Linked DNA regions of Homo sapiens: region 1 is linked to region 2. Evidence: promoter capture Hi-C in 16 types of primary human blood cells and fetal thymus (Javierre and others, 2016). All regions are on one chromosome and are shown on one strand. Each heading gives the region's core, a stretch centred on a gene start or on the middle of the fragment in contact. The rest is flanking DNA. Distances are from core to core; before and after follow the strand shown.

Evidence for each region. The method cuts DNA at HindIII sites, captures the fragments that hold promoters and counts their contacts. A CHiCAGO score of 5 or more calls a contact.
Region 1: a fragment that was not itself captured here is called in contact with the fragment with the promoter of ARSJ in region 2 in 1 of 17 cell types (naive CD4 T cells); the score reaches 5.8 in naive CD4 T cells.

The regions. Positions count from the first base shown.
Region 1 is chr4:113,548,999-113,551,951 of GRCh38, forward strand. All of the region lies in intron 5 of CAMK2D (calcium/calmodulin dependent protein kinase II delta), which reads right to left. Among named protein-coding and RNA genes, the nearest start is that of CAMK2D, 210 kb to the right of the region's middle. The HindIII fragment of the contact is 5,372 bases long and covers 1-2,953 here.
Region 2 is chr4:113,978,094-113,981,068 of GRCh38, forward strand. ARSJ (arylsulfatase family member J) reads right to left here and starts at 1,554. Exons shown (of 2, transcript NM_024590.4): 1 at 344-1,554. The coding sequence starts at 741. LOC107986305 (a long non-coding RNA gene) reads left to right here and starts at 1,720. Exons shown (of 2, transcript XR_001741794.2): 1 at 1,720-1,893; 2 at 2,277-2,975. It overlaps LOC124900762 (a long non-coding RNA gene), which reads right to left. Exons shown (of 3, transcript XR_007058237.1): 3 at 2,802-2,871. The HindIII fragment of the contact is 10,512 bases long and covers 1-2,975 here.

The sequences.
Region 1 (2,953 bases), core at 191-2,690, 430 kb before region 2:
TAATATGTATAAGAAGGTAAAATCTCCATATTTAGAAAGAAAAATTTATAAAGAATTCCCATAATGTTCTGGGAAAATTCTTCAGAGATATAAAATTTCCAGGTATTTCTTATACACATCTAAACTGTTTAAAATCTGAGGTCACAATTAAACAGGTGTTGAAACAAGAGGGTAAACACAGATGAAGTGGCAGGTGAAACAAGGGTCAAAAAAAATGGAGGGACACATTTACCATTTCGCCTTAGAAGCGTTGCTTTTTGTAAAGTATATAACAGGAAAACAAATGCAAGTCTCCAACAATAAAGGGAGAATTTAAAGTAAACTCATGAATAAAATAAACCCCTCTTTAGTGTAAGAATACTTTGGGGAAGAGCTAGGGAGCTTTCAAAGAATAAATAAATACAAATTTACAATCCCCTGGAGCATTGGTAATTATTAAACCCACTTCCATACACTTCAGTGAAGAAAAACTTTTGCTTCATACTATATCAAAATGCACATTTTATGCTATTCTTATTAAGGGTTCACTGATATCAAATGGGACTGCTAATTAGAGAGGAGAAATCCTTGTTTGGCACCTATAAGGTCCTGTGAACTGTCATCTGACATATAATAATGCAGAACACATCACACTGATGAATTTTGTATAAGTTCACTGTGCAATTCAAATGCAAGTACATCCTGAACTACATTTATTCATTGAAAGATGAAGCAAACATTTTAATAAGGACATTTTCAACCACTTAATGTATAAAATAATATTATTCTAAAGAAAAATCTTGAATTTAAAAAAGTAATCACCATCTGATTTATTACAATGTAAATATTTTAAAAATTGATCATGACTATGATTTTCTAGCTCTTTTATTAACAATACCACTAAAAGCGTCTCACATTCATTGCTGTTGACTACATTGTTTATTTGAGTATTGGTCATTATTTTTAAACCATAGGAATCTTTTTTCTTTTACAATAATGTTCACTTTGCACTACTCTTTAAGAATATTTCTCTTCCTGTTCTCAAACAACAAGCATAAATTATTGAATCTTGGGAATAACAGAAGATAAAGAAGTAAACAATAACACATACTAAATGGACTTCACCATTTTTTTTACTAGTGAGAATGGATTCAATTCTTAAATTTTTGAGAACTAGTAAAAAATTTTTACAATTTTTTGACAATCAAATAGCCTCTTTTGAGACAGGGTCTCACTCTGTCGCCCAGGCTGGAGTGCAGTGGCATGATCTCTGCAGCCTCCACCTCCCAGGTTCAAGTGATTCTCCTGCCTCAGCCTCCTGATTATCTGGGACTACAGGTGCATGCTGCCACACCTGGCTAAGTTTTGTATTTTCAGCAGAGACAGGGTTTCACCATGTTGCCCAGGCTGGTCTCGAACTCCTGGGCTCAAGCAATCCTCCCACCTTGGCCTCCCAAAGTTCTGGGATTATAGGAGTGGGCCACCACATCTGACTGAGAAATAGCCTCTTTATGTATTTAGAAGGGAATGTTCCTTCTCTTTGATTTTATCGGAGAGCTTTCATAAAAAATATCTTAGAGCTCTTTAGCAGTAAAAATAGTCTCTATTTTAATTTCAACCAGTATTTTTCAAACCAAGTAACAGCCTGCTTAACATAACTTTGAAGGGTAACATTAATGAAATTCCCTAGTTTAGTACCTTGATTAAAAGTATTACTGTTTCTTGGCAAGTGGCCAAATAGCTACTTCCAGAGGTTCCCCATGGCCCCTTTCAGGACCCTAATGTGGGGATTTGGGGTAAACTGAGCAAGTGATGATTCACTCATCATAGTATAAATTACACAGAATTTTCTATTTGACTTTGGCCATAAAAATTCCATTAAAAAATTAGAGCGTAGTCATGTACAGATAGATTCACAAAGTGCCATAAACAGTGCATTAAACCAAGAAGAAAAATTAGAAACTTAGAAGTGTGCCTCTGAGGGCAAGGAGGGGCTGGGAACCTTAATATCAGCTGGACATCTGTTGAGGGTCAGGCTACAATGGGATTAGCAAGCCTTGGGAAGCTCTGATGGCATTGGAGAATGGGAGCAGAGTCAATCTCTGCTCCCAAACATCTCATTTACATTGCTAATAATGAGCCAATCACTCTTGATCAGATTTTTAAAAATAAATGACAGCTACAGAATATATAAAAGTACACAGGAAAATTTACACCATGCAATCCAGTAACATCTAAGCAAGTGGTTAATGTTACTCCACTCCAAAAGTGTTGCCTTGGATAGCCTAGGAAGTTGCAAATTAGACAAAAAACTTAGCCTTTTTTAAACTTTTGTAAAGATTTTGCCAATTAACAAGATTGAAAAATTACTCTTGAACTCTCTTAAATGCCTGAATAAATATATTTCAACTCAGGGGTTCAAGGGTTTTAATGAAATTTCCAAAGAGTTAATTAGCTAATAATAGTTCCTTAAAGAGACCACTGAGACTTTTTTCAGGCTGTTTCTGTTTTCTGATTAGATATTCATTGTTCAGTAGAACTTTCTGTGATGATGAAAATGTTCTATATCTGGTCTGGCCAATTGGTAGCTACTAGACACTTGTGGCTACTAGGCAGTTGGCTAGACCAACTACATGGTTAGACCAACTGAGAAATAAATTTTTAATTTAATTTAATTTTAATTAATTGAAATTGCAATAGCCACATGTGACTACTGGCTACCACTGGGCAACCTAGAATCTATCTAGGGATTAGAGGATTTCAATCTTTGATCTCTGACTTTCACTAAAAAATATATTGCTTTAGCAGAAGTCATTCCAATTAGGTGGGGTGTTTTGGTTTGTTTTTCCTTGTTGTTTTTGATAAAATATGTAATCTAACTACAGATGCTAGATAAAAATATAGACCAGATTCATGGAGTTTTTTTTCTCTAAGAATCATCCCGGAGATCCTTAAAACATTTGTTTGTACAAAC
Region 2 (2,975 bases), core at 304-2,803:
TGAAACAAAATCTGAGCATGCTCAAAAGTAGAATAGATTTGAAACAGGAGACCATTTCTGGAAATCTCTGGTTTGTGGGTATTTATACGTTCTCATCTCATTTAGAAACTTATAATTGGCTCTGTAAAAAGGAAAACTAGACTACACTAGTGACTAGAAAATTAAGATCATTAACATTGTATCCATTTTAACACGGTACCCCAATACCATACATCATTCATTCATTCTTCATTCATTCAGTTGTTCCCCATACTTTCTGTTACTCCCTTAAATTTGGAGCTGGATCTTCATTAAATGCTTAAGATTTCTCCAAGGAATAAATATAAGAAGTAGGAACACTTACTTTCCAGTAATAAACTGACTCCTGGATGGTGTGCAAATAGGCTGGACATAGTAGTTCTCCAGTTTAACTCCTTCGGCAGCGAGCTTGTCAAGAGTAGGTGTTTTAATCTCAGATCCGTGGTAACCCACATCTCTAAATCCCTGATCATCCGCTAGGATGAAAATGAGATGGGGCTGGGAGGTGGAAGTTGTGCTGGGCTCTAGTTTCTCTCCAGCTTGAGCTAGTAAGGCCCCTTCTTCCTCCTCTTCTAAGGCCTGGCCCCAGGACAGGTAACCATAAGTGAGGAGGCAGAGGATCCAGAATCCTGCCAGCGCCCCCATTGCTAGCATCTTTCCAGGACAGACACAGGCCTGTGGAGAAGGCGGAGGCGGATGCCCCGCACAGCCCCTGGGAGCCATTCACTCAGGTCCCAGGTGAGACTCCACGCGGAGAACCACGCGCCCCGCGCCGCTGCGGGCGCACACATGCACCCAACAGACGGTGAAGACTCTCCACCTGGCAAGAAATCCTCCTCTCCTCTCAGCTGTCACCATGTCCGACAACTTTAATCTTCCAGAAGTGATGGCTTAATGGATGGGACTCCGGAAGAACAAGGAGGGCTCGCTCTTCTCCAGCACATTTCACTTTCTCCTCCTCCTCCCCCCTCCCTAGAGCAGCTTCCACCAAGGAAAAAAAAAAGAAAAAAGTTAATATCTCCACCCAAAAGTTCTCTGGAGAAAAAAACCAAGCAAGGAATTGAGAATCACAGTGGACAGGAACTTTTCGTGGCCAGAGCGCCCTCGACGTTGGGGAGCGAGGCTGACTCTCCTGGGAGTGCTGGTACGGAGGGCGGCGGGATCGGCCGTCTGTCCTGCGGTCCCCACACCTGGAAAGAACTGCGAAGTGGACGCGTCGCGTCTGGCTCTGATCAGACAGATAAACTGCCGTAGTGGACCGGCCTCCTGATCACCTTCTCCACTTTCCCAGGGCTATTTTCCCCAGTCCTTTCCTAGGCGTTTGCCAATCTCCCCGACACTCACCAGGCGGCGAAGTGAGGAAGAAGCCGTTTCCTGATCTCCCTCCACCTCCGCAGAAACTCCGGGCAGCAATTCCTTTTCCCCGCTGCTAGGGAGCCTGAAGGCCAAAGCCGGGTCCCTAGCCCCGCGGCCGGTCCGCGCGGAGCCCGCTTGGTCTTTGCGTAGTTGGCGCACCCGGCGCAGGCGCTGCAAACTGCGTGCGTTTTCTCAGCTAACTTATTTAGCTTTGGCACTCCGAGTTCTTTTGCCTCCTCCCTCTTTTCTCTCCAGTGAATCACAGAACGGTACTTTCTTCCTGAGCTCCCCCGGGAAGAGGGGGTGGGGGAAAAGGACTGTTTAGAGGCTCGATCTTTCCTTTTTCTTTTCCGGGAGGTGGATGGCCAAGGCAGAGGAGGCTTTGCCAGAGAGAGAGCTGCGTGCTGCTCCAGCCCAGCGGGATTCCGGGGGATCCGCCTGGGCTACCGCGTCCCAAGAGTGTCGCCTCCTGCCCATCACCCCGCTAGAGGGAAAGGACGGCGGCGCGAATGGGGAAGGGTAAAGCGGGCACTTCTTTTCGTGGGGCTGTTGGTGAAGAGCCCCGTCTCCCATCCCTAAAGTTGCGCTTGCAAACTTTTTCTAGCTTCTGGAGGGAGTGAGAGAGAAGGAGCAGGAATAAAAACAAAATGCGTATGACACTCTTTCCTCTTTCCAACTTCCTTTGCAGGTTTTCCTTTACTAGTCCCCCCACCCCCATCATTTTCCTATTCCTTTTGTCCCTACCTTTTTTTTTTTTTTTTTCAGTAACGATGACAAATTTTTAAGTTTTATTTCCTCTCCCAATAGCTGGCTTTTACAGCCTGATTCTTCGTTACCCTTTCCCTATGTGAAAATACTGGAATTGCCCGCTCCCTCTTACCTCTCCCCTAACTTACCCACAGGGTGTCTCCAGCCAAAAGCCTGGAGAGGAAGAGTTATGCATTTCTCCTTCAAGAACCCCGAAGCCAGTCTGCATTCCTGCATTAAAGAAGCCAGTGTTTCCCATCCAGTAATTCAGGGAGCTTCATCATTTTTTTTCCTTCTTTCTTTTTTACCATGTGGAGGAAAACCATTGTAAAAACTTATCTTGGTTGTGAAAATACTCTTGATTTTACTAGAGTCATAGAGTTTTAAAGTCCTGCTCAAAGGCAGCAGAGGGATGTATAGTATAGTCTCTATAGAAGAGGCAATGAATGCCAAGAGCCACTGAGATATTTTTTTCTACCACCAAATTTATTCAACAGTTACTTACTGAATACCTACTGTGGGCTGGCACATAACATGTCAGATTCTCTCAATTGACTGAAACATAAATCTAGGTTTCATTTAGCCATTTATTTCTAATTCTCTCCTGTTGCTAAAGTTCCTGCTGAGTTCCCAGGCAAAACTTTGTGAAATGGGAACTTTGAAAGGCACGATGGTGCTCCATGAAGTTAACCTTGCTAGCTGCTGTAGGCCTTCTGGTCTCTGTTCTTCCTTGCAGCCCTTCTGGCTAAGCTGGGGAGAGATAGTCAGTTTTAGAAGCCATGTTCAGAAATGTGAGTTTAGCAATTCTGTAAATTAAGTCACCAAATATGTAATGAGAGTACTGAGTGTCAGGG